Regions from separate parts of the Homo sapiens genome. Here all the other regions are linked to region 6. Evidence: promoter capture Hi-C in human tissues and cell types (Jung and others, 2019). All regions are on one chromosome and are shown on one strand. Each heading gives the region's core, a stretch centred on a gene start or on the middle of the fragment in contact. The rest is flanking DNA. Distances are from core to core; before and after follow the strand shown. Region 1 has its middle 14 kb from the start of ZNF718. Region 2 overlaps LOC105374338 (a long non-coding RNA gene). Region 3 overlaps ZNF595 (zinc finger protein 595). Region 4 holds the start of ZNF721 (zinc finger protein 721). Region 5 overlaps ZNF718 (zinc finger protein 718). Region 6 holds the start of ZNF141 (zinc finger protein 141). Region 7 overlaps PIGG (phosphatidylinositol glycan anchor biosynthesis class G (EMM blood group)).

The links. The method cuts DNA at HindIII sites, captures the fragments that hold promoters and counts their contacts. A contact is called where the count stands out against the background at its distance.
Region 1: a fragment that was not itself captured here is called in contact with the fragment with the promoter of ZNF141 in region 6 in 1 of the 25 tissues and cell types used here (dorsolateral prefrontal cortex).
Region 2: a contact is called between a fragment that was not itself captured here and the fragment with the promoter of ZNF141 in region 6, in 1 of the 25 tissues and cell types used here (mesendoderm cells).
Region 3: a fragment that was not itself captured here is called in contact with the fragment with the promoter of ZNF141 in region 6 in 4 of the 25 tissues and cell types used here (dorsolateral prefrontal cortex, lymphoblastoid cells, mesendoderm cells and 1 more).
Region 4: a contact is called between the fragment with the promoter of ZNF721 here and the fragment with the promoter of ZNF141 in region 6, in 5 of the 25 tissues and cell types used here (adrenal gland, dorsolateral prefrontal cortex, heart right ventricle and 2 more).
Region 5: a contact is called between a fragment that was not itself captured here and the fragment with the promoter of ZNF141 in region 6, in 2 of the 25 tissues and cell types used here (H1 embryonic stem cells and dorsolateral prefrontal cortex).
Region 7: a fragment that was not itself captured here is called in contact with the fragment with the promoter of ZNF141 in region 6 in 2 of the 25 tissues and cell types used here (H1 embryonic stem cells and dorsolateral prefrontal cortex).

What each region holds. Positions count from the first base shown.
Region 1 is chr4:109,397-112,096 of GRCh38, reverse strand. No RefSeq gene overlaps it. Among named protein-coding and RNA genes, the nearest start is that of ZNF718, 14 kb to the left of the region's middle. The HindIII fragment of the contact is 4,168 bases long and covers 1-2,700 here.
Region 2 is chr4:581,633-584,332 of GRCh38, reverse strand. LOC105374338 (a long non-coding RNA gene) reads right to left here. Exons shown (of 3, transcript NR_148199.1): 3 at 1-54. Among named protein-coding and RNA genes, the nearest start is that of TMEM271, 6.7 kb to the right of the region's middle. The HindIII fragment of the contact is 8,335 bases long and covers 1-2,700 here.
Region 3 is chr4:87,060-89,759 of GRCh38, reverse strand. ZNF595 (zinc finger protein 595) reads right to left here. Exons shown (of 4, transcript NM_182524.4): 4 at 1,552-2,700. The coding sequence ends at 2,309. Among named protein-coding and RNA genes, the nearest start is that of ZNF595, 35 kb to the right of the region's middle. The HindIII fragment of the contact is 4,411 bases long and covers 1-2,700 here.
Region 4 is chr4:497,875-500,574 of GRCh38, reverse strand. ZNF721 (zinc finger protein 721) reads left to right here and starts at 1,419. Exons shown (of 3, transcript NM_133474.4): 1 at 1,419-1,519. It overlaps PIGG (phosphatidylinositol glycan anchor biosynthesis class G (EMM blood group)), which reads right to left and starts at 1,365. Exons shown (of 13, transcript NM_001127178.3): 1 at 1,086-1,365; 2 at 1-179. The coding sequence starts at 1,239. RefSeq lists enhancers at 404-1,267, 1,225-1,704, 1,268-2,133. The HindIII fragment of the contact is 23,753 bases long and covers 1-2,700 here.
Region 5 is chr4:146,437-149,136 of GRCh38, reverse strand. All of the region lies in intron 3 of ZNF718 (zinc finger protein 718), which reads right to left. Among named protein-coding and RNA genes, the nearest start is that of ZNF718, 23 kb to the right of the region's middle. The HindIII fragment of the contact is 4,844 bases long and covers 1-2,700 here.
Region 6 is chr4:336,410-339,109 of GRCh38, reverse strand. ZNF141 (zinc finger protein 141) reads right to left here and starts at 1,296. Exons shown (of 4, transcript NM_003441.4): 1 at 1,124-1,296. The coding sequence starts at 1,126. RefSeq lists enhancers at 1,447-1,546, 591-1,551, 1,657-2,172 and silencers at 2,187-2,296, 2,527-2,586. The HindIII fragment of the contact is 20,671 bases long and covers 1-2,700 here.
Region 7 is chr4:528,115-530,814 of GRCh38, reverse strand. PIGG (phosphatidylinositol glycan anchor biosynthesis class G (EMM blood group)) reads right to left here. Exons shown (of 13, transcript NM_001127178.3): 11 at 70-379. Among named protein-coding and RNA genes, the nearest start is that of PIGG, 30 kb to the right of the region's middle. The HindIII fragment of the contact is 6,945 bases long and covers 1-2,700 here.

The DNA.
Region 1 (2,700 bases), core at 73-2,572, 230 kb after region 6:
AGAAACTGCCCAGGCCAGCCCTGGATGTGGAGGAGGCTCCACTGTGAGCCACAGCAGGATCCCAAACTTTGTAGGTGCAGGAATAAGAGAGAGTGTCAGAAGGACTGGGAGATGGAGCAATGGCCTCTGTGGAGGAGTAAGCCCTCCTCACCAGAGGCCGTGAGGATCCTCCCTTGGGGTTTCTGGCTGGACTCTATGTCTTCGCTTTAGTACTCTATTCTAAACCCATCAGAAGCGCTTTGCTGCTACAAAATAAACTCCAGACTGGAGCGTGGCATCAAGGGCTCTTCCCAACCTGACTCCAAATTGACTTTCTGACCATCTCCCCCTCCTGCCCTATACTTTCAACCTTCCTGTTCTTTGCTCACACAAGTCCATCCACCTGGCACACCTTCCCCTGAATATTTTCCCATTTTCCCAATCTCCAGGCCTACCTCTGCCTCCTAGAAGCCTTTCATTCTGAGACTCCTGGGCCTGGAGATTTACCAAAGTGTCGTGCATTTTCCCAGTCTTAGGATTGTTTATGTCCCCCCAGGTACCTGCACATGCCCCACACACAGCGGCACTGCATAAACATGGGGCAATGTTTCGCTCCCCCATTGCCTTCGTTCTGTTCCCTCTGAACCCCTGAAATTTGAGACAGTTAATTTAAAAAGTTTATTTTGCCAAGGTTGTGGATGGCATGTCTATGACACAGCCTCAGGAGGTCCTGACAACATGTGCCCAAGGTGGTCAGAGCACAGCTTGGTTTTATACATTTTGAGGGGCATAAGACATCAATCAACATATGTAAGATGAACACTGGTTCAGTCCAGAAAGGTAGGACAACTCCAAGCAAAAGCGAGACAACTGGAAGTGGGGAGGGGGTTTCCAGGACAGAGGTAGGTGAGAGACAATCCATTGCCTTCTTTTGAGTTTCTGATTAGCCTTTTTAAAGGAGGAAATCAGATATGCATTTATTTCAGTGAGCAGAGGGATGACTTTGAATTGAATGGAAGGCAGGTTTGCCCTAAGCATTGCCAGCTTGAATTTTCCCTTTAGCTTAGTTACTTTGGGGCCCAAGATATTTTCCTTGAATGGGTCAGGTCCTCTGCCACTGTGTCTTCCTCAAAGATGCTCTGCAACAGATGGTGGTGTTCTCATTTGATGGGTGAGAAAACTGCCTTGGAGACGTGAAAATCCAGAGAACAAAGTCAGCATCAGTGTGGGTCCTCCCACCCAGGCCTGCATCATTGTCTCAGTAGCCCTGGCACACAGTGTGAGGGGCCAGAATCGGTCTCCCTGTTTCTGCCCAAGGACCCTGCAGTCTCTTCTGAGCTCAGATACTGGGCCAAACTGAGCTGTTGGAAACCAATATCACAGCCCTCTGGGACTTTGAATAGTGAAAACCTTCACAATGGTCTGCGGAGAAGGGAGCCTCGAGGTTTGATCTGGGCCTTCCCTTCCTTTCTAACTTTCTCACCTCTTCCACTCCCTCCCCCTTGCCCTTTGCTCTGGCCAGTGTCACTGGGGCCCCTGCACAGCCTTCCCTCTCTCTGGAATCTCTTCCCTGGGCTGACTCCTCACCTCCAGGATCTTTTGTGACCCTCTCCCTCTGCCATCACCAAACCCCAGATCGATCCCCTTTTGTGCCTCCTCCCTTCCTTTCTTTCTCTCCTGTCATTGCTTCTTCCTCCTGTCCCAATATTAACCCAGGGTGATCTAGGGGTCTGGAGGTGTAGGTTTGAAGGGGTCCTGAAATGGCCACACACAGATTCATTAGACCCTCTGCAATTCCTAAAGGGTTAATAATGGAACCTCCCATACCCAAGGCGAGGAATTTCCCCCAGGAAAGGTGACTTAATGAGTAGCGAGTGTGACCAACAGGCACCACTTTATCAGGCAGGCACTGAAGAGGCAGGGGAGGGAAAGGATGGAAGCACAGAAACACCTCTGTCTCTCTCTCGCTCTTCCACTAATCTGTGTCCTAACTGAAAGCCCACAGGAGGGACGATGACTTGCTCAAGGTCACCAGCACCTTGGAGAATAGCGAGCCAGGGCCACAGAGGAAGACAGTCTCCTGACCAGCGTGAACCAGTGTCTGCTTCCAAGTCACAGTGGCCTCACTGTCAATGGAGCTCCTTGTGCCCAAAGGCAGGGTGCCTAACCAAGGAGCCACATGAGTGCCAGCTCTGCCACTCTGTAGCCTACAGTAGGCTCCGTTTTGCTTCCTGGTCTTTTTCCTCTTGGGTCCAACTGTCCAGTTTCTTCACCCACTATTCGGACCTCATCTTGTCCCGGCCACTAGAGGCTCAGCTGTCAGGGACCCTCACAACTCAGGCCTCTTCTGTGCTTTCCTTGGGCACCCCTGGACTTCTGTTATCCTCTGAGTGGGCTGGTGAACCACTCCCGTGGAGGTCTTTACATTAACCCAGCCCCTCTCAATCAGCAATCTCCCCTGCCACTCATCCAGATGCTAATTATTTCTCCGTTGAGTTTTTCTCTACCTAATTGAAAATTAACGTCTGATTCCTCTCTCTCCCTTGCATAACCTCCGTGAAAAATGTCAGATGCCTTAACCCCAGGAAGTTCTCTGCCTATATTTCCTTTCCCACCTCCTTCTCCCAGGCACTTTGACTCCGTCTTTCCATTCACATATGTATCTAGAGCCTACCATGTTGTAGTCCCTGGGGATATTGCAGTGAACCAAACAATGTCCCT
Region 2 (2,700 bases), core at 151-2,650, 250 kb before region 6:
CAAGCTTGGTTGGACATTTGAAACTGAATCAGTGTAATTCATCATATTAACAGGCTGAAAAAGAAAAACCATATGATAATCTCAAAAGACGAGGAAAAAAGCATTTGACAAGATTCATCAACGGTTCATGATAAAAACACTCAAAACAGAAATAGATTTCAACCTGATAAAAGGCATCTACAAAAAAACTACAGCTTACATTATACTTAAGGGTGAAAGACCAAATGGTTTCCCACTAAGACAAGAAACAAGGCAAGGGTGTTTACTCTCATTACTTCTATTCACTATTATGCATGAGGACCTAGCCAATGCAATAAAGCAAGAAAAAAAAAAAGCATGCAGCTTGGAAAGGAAGCAGTAAAATGGGTTCTATTTACCTGTGGCATGATTGTCTATGTAGAAAATCTTACCAAATACACAAAAGCGGCTGCTAGAATTAGTGAATTTAACAAGGTCACAGGGTAAGAGGGCAATCTAAAAAGTTAATTGTATTTATATGTACCAGTAACAAACAATTTTATATTAATGCTATATGTTTATATAGTAACATTTATTAAAGTAAATGTTACTTTAAAGAAATCAGAATAGACACAAAAATCTAATGAGGGTATCTGGCCAGGTGTGGTGGCTCCTGCCTGTAATCCCAGCACTTTGAGAGGCTGAGGTGGGAGGACTGCTTGAGCCCAGGAGTTCGAGACCAGCCTGGGCAAAATAGTGGGACCTTGTCTCTATAAAAACAAAACAAACAAACAAACAAAAAAACCAGAAAAAAAGAAAGAAAAAAAAGAGGGTGTCTTATTCCTTTAAATTAACATTTACAAAATGAAAAATATAAAAATATGAAATCCTTATAGGGAAATTTAACAAAATGTGTGCAAAGCCTGTGCACTGAAAACTACAAAATATTGATGAGATAAATTAATGAAGACTAAGTAAATGTAGGTTAGAAGATTCAATATTGCTAACATACTAATTATCCCCAAATTAAGATATAGGTTCAATACAATCTCAATCAGACATTTTTGGGTAGAAATTGACAAGCTGAGTCTAAAATCTGTATGGACATGCAAAGGACCTAAAATAGTCAAATTATTTTGAAAAAGAGTAAAAATGTTGGAGGACTCACATTACCTGATTCCAGCATTCATTATGGAGCTACAATAATCCAGATACTGTGATGTTAGCATAAGAACAGACATGGCCAGGCACGGTGGCTCACGCCTGTAATCCCAGCACTTTGGGAGGCCGAGGCAGGTGAATCACGAGGTCAGGAGTTCAAGACCAGCCTAACCAACATGGTGAAACTCCGTCTCTACTAAAAATACAAAAATTAGCTGGGTGTGGTGGCACATGCCTGTAATTCCAGCTACTCAGGAGGCTGGGGTAGGAGAATCGCTTGAACCTGGGAGCAGAGGTTGCAGTGAGCCCAGACAGCACCACTGCACTCCAGCCTGGGCAACAGAGTGAGACTCCATCTCAAAAAAAAAAAAAAAACAAAAAAAAACAGACATATAAGTCGATGGGTCAGAACTGAGAGTCAATTGATTTTCAATAAAAGTACCAAGGTAACTTAATGGTACTGGTAATTATTTTCAAGAAATGGTACTGGAACAACTGTATATCCATATGCAAAAATAAAAACCTTGACCATTACATCATACCATATACAAAAATTAATTCAAAATGGATCACAGATGTACACTTAGGAGCTAAAACCACAAAACTTCTGAAAGACAAGAAAATATTTGTAATCTTGGTTCAGACAATTATTTCCTAAATAATACACAAAAAACATAAAAGAAAAAAGTAATAATTGGATGTCATCAAAATGTAAAGTTTTGCTTTTTAAAAGCTCTTGATAAGAAGATGAAAAAGTAGGTCAAAGACTGGGAGAAAATACTTGCGAAACATTTATCCAATAAATAACATGTTCAGAACGTATAAAGAATTCTTACAACTCAATTACAAGAAGACAACCCAATTTTTAAAAAATCGGCAGAGGATTTGGAAGGACTCTTTACTAAAGATATATGAAAGTCTCAACGCCATTAGTTGTCAAGGTAATGCAAATTAAAACACAATGAGATACACTGCAAACCCACCAGAATGGTCAGCACTATTAAGGCTGACAACACCGTGGGCTGGTGAGGGCGTGGGGCATCTGGAGCTTTCACACTTCGGTCTGGGAATGCAAAATGGTACAGCCACTCTGGAAAACAGTTTGTAAGTTTCCTGAAAGTTAAATATTAACTTTTGATACAGTCCAGCAATACCACTTCTAAGGATGTACCCAAGAGAAGTGAAAACAGATGTTCACAGAAGACTTGTCCTTGAATGACAATAGCAGCATTATTCATAACAATCTCAATGGAAAAACACCAAATGTCCATCATTTCATGGATGAGTAAACAAATGTTGGTGGAATTCTGCTCAGCCACGAAAACAAATGATCCATTGATTCATGCAGCAACGTGGAAAAGTCTCCAAGCATTTTGCCAGCGGAAAGAAGCCAGACAGGAAAGACTCTATGCTCCCTGAGTCCATGTATGTGAAATTTTATACTAAAGCTACGGTGACAGATAGTGGTTCATGGTTGCCTGTGCCCAGAATGGAGGGAGAGGGTGCCTGCAAAGGAGAACTTGGGGGGAGTTGGGACAGTGCTGGATCATCTCGGTGGTGGTGACTCACAACAAGGTGTCC
Region 3 (2,700 bases), core at 138-2,637, 250 kb after region 6:
TGGATAACATATGGCATTTGTAGGCAATGGAATATGGCTGTACCTTCAGATAGCAAATTATGCACATGCTACAATAAGCATAAAACTTTAAGACATCATATTTAGTGAAATATACCAGAAACATAGTGACAAAGAGTATATAATCCCATTTAAATGAGCTATCTTAAGTGAAATGATTTTTAGAAGACAGTCAGAATTATAAAGTACTCCTCCACAGATGGAATAAAAACGTGTGAATGCCGGGAGCAGTCATCTGCCACCTGGAGAACAGAACTTCCAGGCACCAGGGGAATGCAAGCACAGATGACAACAGTGATGGTAGCAAGGGCACTGATTAGAGTAGTGGTGGCCTGAGGAGTACTTTTTGGCATGCACCAGTGTGCCAGAGGCTGGGGCCCACACTGGGGATTGGAGTTGCCCTCCATAACTCCAGAACCAGGTCCTGGTGTTTCACTTCATGTTCCACCAATGCCCCTGCAGACAGTAAAGTACTTATCTCAATTAAGTGATCTAAACATTGCATTGATAAGCTATAAATAACCTCAAACACTCCAGTTAAAAACAATTTACCACACTGAAAAATTTCAAACTTCTAATCAGAACATAGAAAGTCTGTATGAAATTACATGGCAAAAAGAGAACAGTGAGAAGACTGTAGCCATAACACAAAGAAGAAGGGGTGTGAGGCATACATAGCTGGGAATAAACCATAAAGATATTCCAAAACTAAAGATAATTAGAAAATAAAATCAGAGGTTCTCTTTAAATTCAGAATGAGTCAGTTTTGCAGCCTGGTAACAGATGTTCTCTCCACATGCAGACTGCCATTTCTTCACTATAGACATTTTCATTCTCTTACTTGGAGCTACAAACTCACTCCAGAAAGAATAATATTTATGGCTAATTATGGAGCATCTATTACCCAGTACTTTCTTATGCTTACTATAATTATATATCAAAACATCCCATGAATTATTAAGTTTCACCAGTACTTACCTGAAAAAATTGGCACAATAAACTCATTTATGTCAATTATAAAAAGTGAAACAAATAACTAAACGGCTCATATAGGGTTATCCAACTAAAGCAATAAAATGAAATGTCCTAACTAAAATATAACTTAATACACGAATTATGAACTTGCATCTAAATATTTTGTGTTTGCTACTAAATTTTATAAAATTATAATTTCTGACCAGCTCACATAATAAATACTTCATAAAGTAAAAATAAAAAAAATAAGAAAGAAGTCAATTATAGCTCTAGCATGAGTAACAGACAAATAAAAACAGAATTTGCATGGGAGAGTCTCAACAATGATCCGTTAAATTTTACAGTAATAGAAGAAAATATAAATTTGATTTCAGAATGTTTTAGGTTTCTAGATTTCTAGTAAAATATCCACCTTATTAAAATAATCTTTGTTCCAATATTGCTATTTTCCTTGGAAAATAGATACAAACTCTCACAGAAACTCAACTGCTTGCCCCATAATTTTCTTACACCTAAATTTTATCTTTAGAGCAATACATTTACATATTTAACTCCATGTAAATCAAAACCAAAGTCTGCATTTATTTGCGGAAAGAGATGCTACATGTTCAAAGATAAATATGGAACATTTTTTAAAAGCATTCATGACTTAGAAATGTGTGAATTATAATTATACTCATATACTTATTATAATCATAAAATAACCTGTAGTAAAAAAATAATTGCACATTTAAAAATAATTAAAGTGGCCAGGTACGATGGCTCACACCCGTAATCCCAGCACTTTGGGAGGCCGAGGTGGGTGGATCATGAGCTCAGGAGTTCGAGAACAGCCTGGCCAGCATTGTGAAACCCTGTCTCTACTGAAAATACAAAAAATTAGCTGGGCATGGTGGCACCTGCCGGTAGTCACAGCTACTCATGAGGCTGAGGCAGGAGAATTGCTTGAACCCAGCAGGTGGAGGTTGCAGTGAGCCAAGATCGCACCACTGCGCTCCAGCCTGGGCGACAGAACGAGACTCTGTCTCAAAAAAAAAAAAAAAAAAAAAAATTAAAGTGTATAACTGGACTGTGTGTAATACAAAGAACAAATGCTTGTGAAGAATAACTCATTTACTCTGATGTGATAATTACATGTCATATGCCTGTATCAAAATAATCCAAATAAGCCATGAATAGATACACATACTATGTACCTACAGAAATTTTAAAAAATTTAAAATAAGAAAAATAATACAAGTTTATATGGGAGCAATATTCTCCAATTTATTTGCTGTGTAAAGACACTGGAATTAGAGATTACTAGAAATGTCATTCAACTATGTTCCTTGCCAGTATGAATTCGCTTGTGTACAGTAAGGGTTGAGGGCCGATTAAAAGCTTTGCCACATTCTTCACATTTGTAGGATTTCTCTCCAGTATGAATTATCTTATGTTTAGTAAGGGATGAGGACCAATTGAAGGCTTTGCCACATTCTTCACATGTGAAGGGTTTCTCTCCAGTATGAATTCTCTTATGTTTAGTAAGGGTTGAGGATAAGTTATAGGCTTTGCCACATTCTTTGCATTTGTAGGGTTTCTCTCCAGAATGAATTTTCTTATGTTCATTCAGGGCTGTGGACCGAGTAAAGGCTTTGCCACATTCTTCACATTTGTAAAGTTTTTGTTCAGAATGAATGCTCCTGTGTATAATAAGGCCTGAGGATT
Region 4 (2,700 bases), core at 170-2,669, 160 kb before region 6:
TGGCTTTGCTTCAGCCACAAAACTGTGAGATGCTCCTTTTTCCACAAGGTAAGTTGTGTAGGGCATAAATTTCACACCCTTTGACCCAAACACAAAATCATCTCTCAAGGCATCTATCAGAACAATAACAACTTTACTGAAGAGAGGTGGTGGCAGCGTGGTCCAGTTAGAACTGGCTCCTAAGTGTTTGAAAGAAAAAAAAGGAAATTGAACTCTAAACTTTCCTTAGCATCAAGCACCTTCACAATCTAGCTTCTACCTACTTCTCCAGCACATACCCTGCGATATCTACATAACCCAACCCAAAAGGAGGCGACTTGTACTTGGTAGGTAGTGCTGGGGGGAAAGGACGGGGGTTAACAGGAGTAATCTTAGGGACCCACAGTAGCAAGCAGTGAATTATCCTCAGTATGGTGAAGAGTACTGGGGTAGGAGAATCCCTACGTAAGGGTCCTGGAATGGGACATTTAGGGAGCTTGACCTAAAACGCAGAGCTGCAGCTACGGGATGGCTGGGCGTTTACATACTGCGTTTACATGGTCAGCGGCTGGCGATGTGTGCAAGTGGTCCAGAACCAGGGCGCCTTTACTTGCTGTATATGGCTGGGTAGGTGAAGCCTAGGAAGAGGCCTAACGCAGAGAGGCCTTAGCCCCTAGGCAGGGAAAACATCTTGGAGGAATATAAGAGACCAAAACGCGAGGGGATCGGCAGGGGTCTTATCTGTTGTGTGCTAGGGGGCAAAAAGGGCGCCTATAACGGGGAGTGACCCAAAGGCTGCTCAGGAAAGGGGCGGGAGCTCTGGACGAGTAGAAGTGGAGAGGCTGGATCCCAGGTATGGACACAGCTTACTTTGTGGTGATCAGGAAGGAAGGTCGAAGTGGGGCCAGTAGAGGTGGTTGCCACAAAGTTGTAAGAATACAGAAAAGAGACGCTGGAGCGGTTAAAAAAAATTTCTGAGGTGGGGACCATAATGGAAGAGACCACCGGGGAGCGCCGAGAAGAAATCCGAGCAGCGAGGCTCAGAAAAAAGGTCTTCTAGGGGATGTGGGGTCAGGGGAGCGGAGACGCCGGGGAGGGGTCCGTACCAGCCGAGGGTTCGGGCGCTGGGGGCTCCGCTCCGTGTTCCGCTCTGGCAGAGGAACGAACGGGAGCCGGGAAGAATCCCCGAAGGAAGACCGCGATCCCTAGCACCTCGATCGCTACGCAACAGGTAGCGAAAGTCCCGGAGCCCAGCCGCATCGTGGACACGCTAGGCTGGATGCGGAACCGACCCCACCTGGAGCCTCGCCCTGCTGCAGCCGCGCTTCCGGCTCCAGGTAGCCGCCTCTAAGCAATAACGCCAGGCCTTATCGTCGCAGCGACAGTGGCGTCACGTCCGCCGGCGCGCCACAGCAGCGCGTCACTTCCGCCAGCCCGCCACAGCGGGGCGTCACCTCGGACATACGAACAGCGGGCGGTGTTCCCGGCTCCGTGGGGCCGTCTTCCCGGCGAGTCCGCGACGGTCGCCGCCCACGGCGAGGTACGAGGTTTTAAAAAGTTTTTAATTTGGAAGGCAGGGTGCAGTGGCTCACGCCTTTAATCCCAGTACTTTGGGAGGCCGAGGCGGGCGGATCACGAGGTCAGGAGATCGAGACTATCCTGGCCAACATGGTGAAACCCCGTCTCAACTAAAAATACAAAAAATTAGCGGGGCGTGATGGCGGGTGCCTGTCGTCCCAGCTACTCGGGAGGCCGAGGCAGGAGAATCGCTTGAACCTGGGAGGCGGAGGTTGCAGTGAGCCGAGATCGCGCCACTGCACTTCTGCCTGGCAACAGAGCGAGACTGCGTCTCAAAAAAAAAAAAAAAAAGAAAATTCAACCCAATACCTCAGACAACTGGTAAATATCTTAATGATTAACTTCGTTTTAAAGATGCCACATGAGTGAGATCATGAGGTATTTGTCTTTCTGTGTCTTATTTTGCTTACATGATATCCTCAGGTTTATCCGTGTTGTGGCAAATGATAGGGTTTCATTCTTTTATTAGAGCTGAATAGTACTCCATTGTGTATATATACCACATTTTCTTTTTTCTGAAAGGAAAATCTTGGGGCCCCAAAATTACTAAACTAAGGGAAAAGACAAGCTCGGAACTGCTCAGGACAAACCTGCCTCCCATTCTATTCAAAGTCATTCCTCTGCTCACTGAGATAAATGCATATTGATAGCCTCCTTTGGAGAGGCTTATCAGAAACCCAGAAACTGCAACCATTTGTCTGTCACCTACCTGTGACCTGGAAGCCCCCTCCCTGTTCCAAGTTGCCCCCGCCTTTCTGGACAGAACCAATGTCCTTCTTTTTTTTTTTTTTTTTTTTTTTTTCTTTTTCTTTTCAGATGAAATCTCACTCTGTCGCCCAGGCTGGAATGCAGTGGCGTGATCTCAGATCACTGCAACCTCTGCCTCCCGGGTTCAAGCAATTCTCCTGCCTCAGCCTCCTGAGTAGCTGGGATTACAGGTGCGTGCCACCACGCACGGCTAATTTTTGTATTTTTAGTTGAGACGGGGTTTCACCATGTTGGTCAGGCTGTTCTTGAACTCCTGACCTCGTGATCCGCCCGCCTCGGCCTCCCAGAGTGCTGGGATTTACAGGCATGAGCCACCGCGCCCGGCCTGTTTTTTTTTTGTTGGTTTGTTTTTGAGACGGAGTCTCGCTCTGTCGC
Region 5 (2,700 bases), core at 193-2,692, 190 kb after region 6:
ATACAAGGGGAGTGACATAGCAAGATGGCAGAATAGGAGGTTCTCTACCCACAACTTCTAGTTATGAAAATACAGCAGTTATGCCCTGACAAAAGAACCTTTATGAAAACTTAGAAATCCATGTAAAAGATTGTGAATCCAAGACTGAGGAGGGCTGTATTAAGAGGGCATGCACTTGCTTGAGTGGCATGCTTGCCCATCATAGTCCCAGCTACCGAATGAAATATGAATAATTCTCACTGTAAACATAGCTATAGATCATTTGGTTTTGTTCCTGCCACTATCACCATCTGCCAAGACACTTAGGAGAATTCATAATGTCCTGTGTCTCAGGTGAAAGGCCTTGACATGTTGGTCCTGCCTGTGATCTATAAATTAGCCCAAAACCCACCCCTTTCCCTGATCAGTCATAGTGTGGAAGAAATCCTGCACACACAGAGACCCACAGAAACATCCATCTGTGCCCCTGGATGTAGGCCTGCCAATATTTATTCAATGGTGGATTTTTTTTTTTTTTTTTTTTTTTGAGACAGAGTCTCACTCTGTCACCTTGGCTGCAGAGTGCAATGGCGTGATATTTGCTCACTGCAACCTCCAGCTCCCAGGTTCAAGCAATTCTGCTGCCTCAGTCTCCTGAGTAAGCGGGATTACAGATGCCCGCCACCATGCCCAGCAAATTTTTGTATTTTTAGTAGAGATGGGATTTGGCCAATTTGGCCAGGCTGGTCTCGAACTCCTGACCTCAGGTGGTCCGCCCACCTTGGCCTCCCGAAGTGCAGGGATTACAGATGTGAGTCACTGCACCTGGCCCTGATGGTGGATTTTGATGTGGCACTATAACCTGGCTCCGAGTCCATGCAACCAAAGTCCAGGGGCAGTTTTTCCTAGCCTGAAACCTGCCAAAAAGCACACCTATAGGCATGCTGGCTGACTTTATTCCCACTATGAATCTTGAAGTAGCCCTGTAACCAGCGCCATTCCCTGTCCGCTAGAGTCTGGGAGCAGTCCTGCCCGCCCAGAAATCTGAAGGCATAAATGCCGTGAACCCAGAAACAGAGCTGAAGTCTTAGCTGTGTATCCTGAAGCAGCCCTATGAATCAGTTCCACACCTTTTCAGCTGTGATCAAGGACCAACCCTGCTCTTCCAGGAACCTGTCCAATGACTGGATTAGAGCATTTCCAAAAACCAGCAAAAGCCTCACAGGAGTCACACCAGATAACATTACTGTATCAGCACCCCCAGATATAATTGGAGGGTTTTTTTTCCTGGAGATGGAATCTCGCTCTGTCGCCCAGGCTGGATGGAGTGCAGTGGTGTGATCTCAGCTCCGTGCAACCTCCACCTCCCGGGTTCAAGCAATTCTCCTGCCTCAGCCTCCCAAGTAGCTGGGGCTACAGGCGCACACTGCCACGACTGGCTAATTTTTTGTATTTTAGTAGAGACGGGGTTTCACCATGTTGCCCAGGCTGGTCTCGAACTCCTGAGCTGAGGCAATTCACCTGCCTTGGCCTCCCAAAGTGCTGGGATTTTTTTTTTCTGAGCACTAGTCATATTGATCAACATCTTGAAGAAAGTTTGGTGTTCTCAGAAAACAGACGAAACCACAACTGTCTGATGCCCTGATTACAGGTCTGCCAAGCATGAACTTCATGGCAGGCCCGGTAGTAGTTACATGACCTGGCTCCAATGCACTTAACTGCAATATCAGCAGAAATCGCATCAGTCCAGAGATCCAACAGAAGAAGATATTTACCTCCCCAAACTAGTTTATAGTAACTGAAAGAGGCATTTGCTTCTTCAGACGCAAGGACATCCTTAATGGATCATGAAGGATCAGGCAAATATAACACCACCAAAGGAAACTAAAAATGCTCCAGTAACCACTTACAATAAAACACAGATCTAAAAAATGACTAACAGAGAATTCAAGATAATCTTCAAGCATCTCACCAGTCTGACCAACATGGTGAAAGCCTCTTTCTACTAAAAATACAAGAATTAGCCAGGTGTGGTGGTGCACACCTGTAGTCACAGCTAATTGGGAGGCTGAGGCAAAAGAATCGCTTGAATCTGGAGTGTGAAGGTTGCAGTGAGTCAAGATCACCCCACTGCACTCTAGCCTGAGCAACAGAGTGAGACTCTGTCTCAAGAAAAATAAAAAATAAAAATAAAAACTCAGTAAGATGCAAAAGTACACAGATTACTAAATTTTTTTGCAACAATGCATGAACAAAATCACAATACAGAAAAAGAAACCATTAAAAAAGAACCAAATAGATATGCTGGAGTCAAAGTAAAAATAGTAGAACTGAAAAATTTAAGAGAAAGCTTTAACAGGAGACTCAGCTATATAAAAAAAAAACACCCCAGCAAACGTAAGTCATTTGAAAGTTTCTAATTAGAAATTTTTTAAAAATGAAAGTGTGAATAAAGAATTTGGAACCCATGCTATATGATAAACCATAAAAAGGTACATATTTTAGGAGGTTCAAAAGAGAGAAAACTTTTTTTTATTGTTTAAAGATATAATGTGTTAAAATTTTCCCAATCTTGGAAGAAATACAGACATTCAGTTTTATGAGGCTCAAAATATCAGTAGCAAGAAGAACTTGATAAAAAACTTGCCCAGGACACAATTATAATTAAACTGCCAAAAATTCAAAGACAATGGGAGATTCTTAAAAGAAGCAAGAAAAAGA
Region 6 (2,700 bases), core at 47-2,546:
TGGCCGTGCGAATGCCCAATGGGCGGGCTCAGGAGTGGGTTAGCATTGGGTGGGGGCTGGCAGCAGGGTGCAGGGAAGGGATGTTTCTCAGAACTCCTTTCCTCCAAGTTCTCAGCGCCCTCTCTCCCCGGGAGGAGACCTGGAGGAACAGAACAGTGCGCAGCAGGACAGTGCATGTGCAGAACCCGGCTGGTCTCCCGCGGACACCTGCGACTCCCTCCAGCCCAGGCTCAGCCATGTCTTTCTTCTGACAGGAAACGTGAGGAGTTTGCTCAACACCAGTCAATGCTCCGACCCCAACGGGCTGTCCAACAACTCACTAACGACACCACCCGGAGTCAGCACAGACCCCACAAGCTCAGCGCTCTTCCCGCAGCTGCCCCCCTGCAGACGCCAGTCCCTGCCTCTGGACACCCGTCTTCATTTCTGAACACCTGTCTACAAACCAGGGGCCCACACCCTCCTCAAGTTCAATAATATGACAGAACTACTCACAGAACTCAGCGAAGCGCTGTGCGCGCCCACACTAGCGTATTCTAAAAGATGCCACTCAGGAACAGCCACGCGGAGGAGGCGCACAGGGCAAGGAGACTGGTGGGCAAGTTGGAGCGGGCGGGTGATTTGCTTCGCTTCCTCACACACCTCACAAAAGCTTTTCCTTCAAGACCCGCTGGCAGCCCCCAAACCACGAGCCACGGCCGGCGCTGTCCCATTAATGAGTCCCCATTTGCTCACATGAACTCTGTTTTGATGGGGCCTCGATCTCATTCCGAACAGGGTAAAGCAGGGACGGGATCCCCAGACCACAGCTTCTCCCACAGCTCCTCCCACGCCGGCATCGCGCACGCCGCGCGGGCGGCTTCCAGATAAGCTACTCCTCACCCCACAGCCTGGGGAAGGTGCGGGGCTGCGGGCGCAGAGCTGCACAAGGAGGGCTGCAGGCTGGGCCAGAGCCGCTGTGCGGGGACCGACAGGAGCCCAGGTCCCTCACCGGAGGGTACTGAGGCCCCAGGGCTGAGCGGCGGCAGCGGGGACTCCGTTCGCAGACTCGGTCCCGCCGCCATTTCCCGCCAGCTCCGATGAGACCTCCTCAGCCTTGGGACGCCCTGCCCCGCACACTCACCATTTCCCCACTTCTGAAGTATTCGGGAGTCTTAGCTACCAATCATCCAATACCCGCAGGTCACAGAGCGACGGAGGCTGAGCTGTGGCCGAATCACCAAGGCCTCCCACAACTGAGAACGCAGAGAGATGAAGCCCCTAACCCGCGGTCTGGTAGTAGCCAGACGCAAAGACCCGCGCCACATCCCGGAAGCCACCGCCTCCTCTCTGGCTGCGTGCCTGATTGGGCAGTTTTCACTCCAGTGCGCTGATTGGATACGGCTCCAATCTCCCCGCCATCAGACCTTGAGTGACAGAAGTTGCAACCACATACTCCACGGAATGTGGCGAGAGTGACAGCCGGGGGGCCTCCAGGCAGTTTCAGGCGGGGCTTTCTCTTCGTGCTTGGCCTGGCACAGCCCAGGGGTCATTTTTTAACCTTGTGATGTGTAAGGTGACGTCCATTTAGAAATTATACACGCACGCACACACACAGACATATACGCGCGCGCGCACACACAGACGCGCGCACGTACGCAGTCTCACATAAACATACAAAAGTCACAGACACACACACACACACACGCACGCACCCACGCACGCACAGCCCATCCTTCCTCCAAGGCTCGCGAATCATCTCTCCACAAATCCTGCCTTCGGGGCCGCAGCCTGCAGGCCGACCTCAGTCCGTCCTCACAGAGCCTAGTTGGGTGCACAGCTCTCCCTGACGCGCGAGGAGCAGGTTCACGGGAGTCGGTCGCGCATCCCCAGCGCCCTGCGGGCCTCGCACCGGCTGTGGCGGTGACCCCGGTGAGGAGGGCTTTGGTGCGGGTCACCGTTGCTGAGGACACCCTCCTCCCCCGGAAGCGCGGTCCTGGGGGTCTGGGGGGCGGGTCCCTGACCGCTGTAAACAATAGGTCGGTGGTGTCCACGCAGCAGGCAGCAAATTCTCAGGAAGTGAGCGTCCCGTCTTTGGCTTCACCTTCGTGTCTGTAGAATGGGGGTGAGGGGACTCAGGACTCGGAGCGCTGTCGGGCGGGGCGAGGTGGGCTGAGAGTGTGTCTCCCTCCCCAAGCTCACCCGGAGCTGTGCGGGGCGGGACCGCCCCAGGACCCTCGGTTCCCAGGAGCTCCTGGGGGCCCCGCCGCCCCCACCCCAGGCCGCGCTGCGCAGCCCCAGTCCCCGCCGGCCCCACCGCGCGGTCGCTTTGAGGTCGGCCGGGGTCTGCCCGGCGATGGCGACGCTGCAGCCGCTGGAGCCGGGGCCACCGGGGATCTCGGCGGGACCTGGCGGCAGCGAGGACGCGGACCCTGGAGAGATGGGAGGGGCGCGCCCCGAGCCCGAGCCCCACCCGGACCCGGCTGCCGTCGGCCTAGCCAGGGCCGGGGCGGACACCGTCGAGGACGAAGCCGGGCCCGCGCCCCTGGGCGACCCGTTGAGCCGCGGAGCCCCGCGGGGTGGAGCCGGGCCAGGCCCATCCGCTCCGGGCGCGGGCAGCTGGCGTCGCGGGTGGGTCAGAACCCAGGACACGCCCAGGAGTCCGACCTCATGGCGCTGCAGGGCCTGGGGAGTGGGGGCTGGGGACAGCGCCAGGGCCAA
Region 7 (2,700 bases), core at 148-2,647, 190 kb before region 6:
TCAAAGAAAAATTTAAAATAAATATGTAAAACATGAAGTCTACTACCCATGATAATAATGAAAACCTACCTGAAAATAGAAGAATGCTTGACCAAACCAATAATGCATCACAGTAATCTCAGCTGCATCGTGTCTCAGGGGCTTCCAGATGAATTTAGTCATTAGAGTCTGAATCAAGAGGCTAAATGCTAAGACCGGAAGATTATGTGGTCTAAAGAGCAAGGCTGCCAGAAGAACTAATCCACTATATATCTCCCATAAACCTACAGTCTTGAGTTTGAAGTCTGCAGCAATGACTTGAGATTTAAGTAAGTCTTTGGTGCCCGTGAACAGAATGCCAAGGACAAAGACATAAACAAAACGAGCTTCAATAATACCCCTAAAAAAGAGCAAAACAAGTTAGATTCATTAGCACCAGTGAGAAAAATTCAAAAACATTTTCCCATGAAAAACACACCTATCTACCCAGGGAACCAGTAAATGTCCAGCACTGCTGACTAAAGGAGCCGCGGCACCCTCCCTACCCCCCAGGTCCTGTCATGGCAGTGGGCATGTCTCCTCCGCACAGCAGCCCTGAGGAGCCGCCGCCACAGGCCCACAGGTGTGTCCTCGTGCAGACTCTTCCGCTGGGGCTGGCTTCGGGGAGATCTTGCTCATTTGGCTCATCTGGTGGCACGACCCAAGCGGTGCCCTCGTGGCCCGCCTGCTTTGCAGTTAATTAAAAAAAACCCAACGCACTAGTATAAGAGTCAACTCTAAGAAACTGCTGTAAGTTCATAAATGTTCATTGCACAACTGAGCAGATTTAAAGAAGGATTTGCACATTTACAGGTACACATACATGCAGTTATAGGTAAATAAGCACCTGCACATTCACAGGCACACACGCGTGCAGTGGTGCAGTCATCCAACCCGCGGGCTCTGAGAAAAGGCAGAGCTCTGCTCAGTCCGAGCCCTGCTGCTCTGCTCACTAGCTCTCCTACTCGGGCGTGTCAATCAAGACTTCTGACCCTCAGCTTTGCTATTTGTGAAATGGAGAGAAAATGGTTCTACACTTCACAAAGTCATCCTAGGAATTAAGCAAGGGAATGCAGGGAGTGCTTGGCACACAGTAAGCTCAGTAAAATTAAGTACTCTTATGATAGTTATCTGTAAAGGATACAATTACCAAAAAATTTCATCTTACAAAACACGTATGTTCCTAAAACATAATATTTTAAATAAATTTTGTAAATGAAATGCTTCACACAGCCTACAAATCTGATCATTTAAAATAATCGTAATTTTTAATATCATAATATTGTGAAAACTGAATTTTCCTATATTAGATTTTCTTAGAAAGCTTTTACATTAAGAAAGTAAACTTTGATCAGTTTAGTTCAAACAGCCTGAGCACTGTATACCATGTGCCTGGCAGTGTGGCTGCCAGGAGGGGCCCACATCCTGGCTGAGGAGCTGGGGTCAGGTACCTGGCAACCCCCACAGGCCAAGGTGTGTGCTAAGTTAAGAGTGAATTATAGGCCCATCTGCATTCAAAGAAGGGAGAAATCAGCAAAGGTCACAATCACTGGAGAAGTTTCATAGAAGAAAAGGGACTGGTTTCTGTGTCGAGAGGATGCTAGGGCAGGCAGGGTGATGAGCAGGAGGGGCATCATCCAGGGCCTTTGGTGGGTCCTCCTCCTCCTCCCCTGGCCGGGCAGAGTCTGATCCTGCTCAACCAGGCCCACCCCGCTTCCACCTCCACTCCAGCCATCCCTGGGCTTCTGAGTGGAGGACAGTCAGGAACTGAGTGCAAAGGATTTCAGACTCTCAGTGGATGGCAGGGCCCGGGGGACTGACAGGAGAGCGGCAGCTGTTACAATGATCTAGAGCCAGGATGCCTCTGTAGCCAGGACCTATTTACGATCGGGACAGATGGGGACAAAGGACGGAGGCACTTTACAGGAAGAAGGTGAACCAGGCAGTGCGTGTGGAAAGAAAAGGCACACTGGCTAGTTCTGGACACTAGCAAATTACATGCTGCAGGAAGCAGGCCAGGAAAGGGAAGAGGGCCAAGGTCTTGAGATGAGTGATGCTGAAATTCAGTGTATAGATCTGTGAGGAAATGAATTTATTCATACGCTGCACCTTAAACACACACCCGCAAATGTAACATCCATTTGGATGAGCCCTAAGTCTCAGATTCCAAAGTCAACAGCCTTTGAGACATCTCCACAGAACACCGCTGGTACCTGCACGTCAGCATCCTCTCTGCCCCAGGCCCCGGCCCCGTATGACGGCCTGCTACACTCTCACTGCCTCAGCCAGGCCTCAGGTCACCCTAACTCCCACCCCTTACTCCCCACTCAGCCAGGAAGTACTTCCAGGGGTGCCCCCGGAGCCCCACGGCCACCCCTCAGGCTGGCCACAGCCCTCAGCAGTCACCTTGACTTGCTGTGATTAGAAAAGCAACACTTATTAACTCTAGACATCGCTAAGATACAAAAATAAGTAAAAAGCAAGACCACAATCTTATGATTTCAGGTCCTAAATATAATCACCAGTATTTTAAGTATGTAGTCTTTCATATAAGTATGAAAAAAAAAACAGGTACACAATTAGTAAGCTGGGGTCATACCTGTTCCACAACATGCTTCTCTGTTCTGTGAAAATAGGCTGCCTAACAGCCAGAAGACCCCTCTGCAGAGCACCGACCTCACT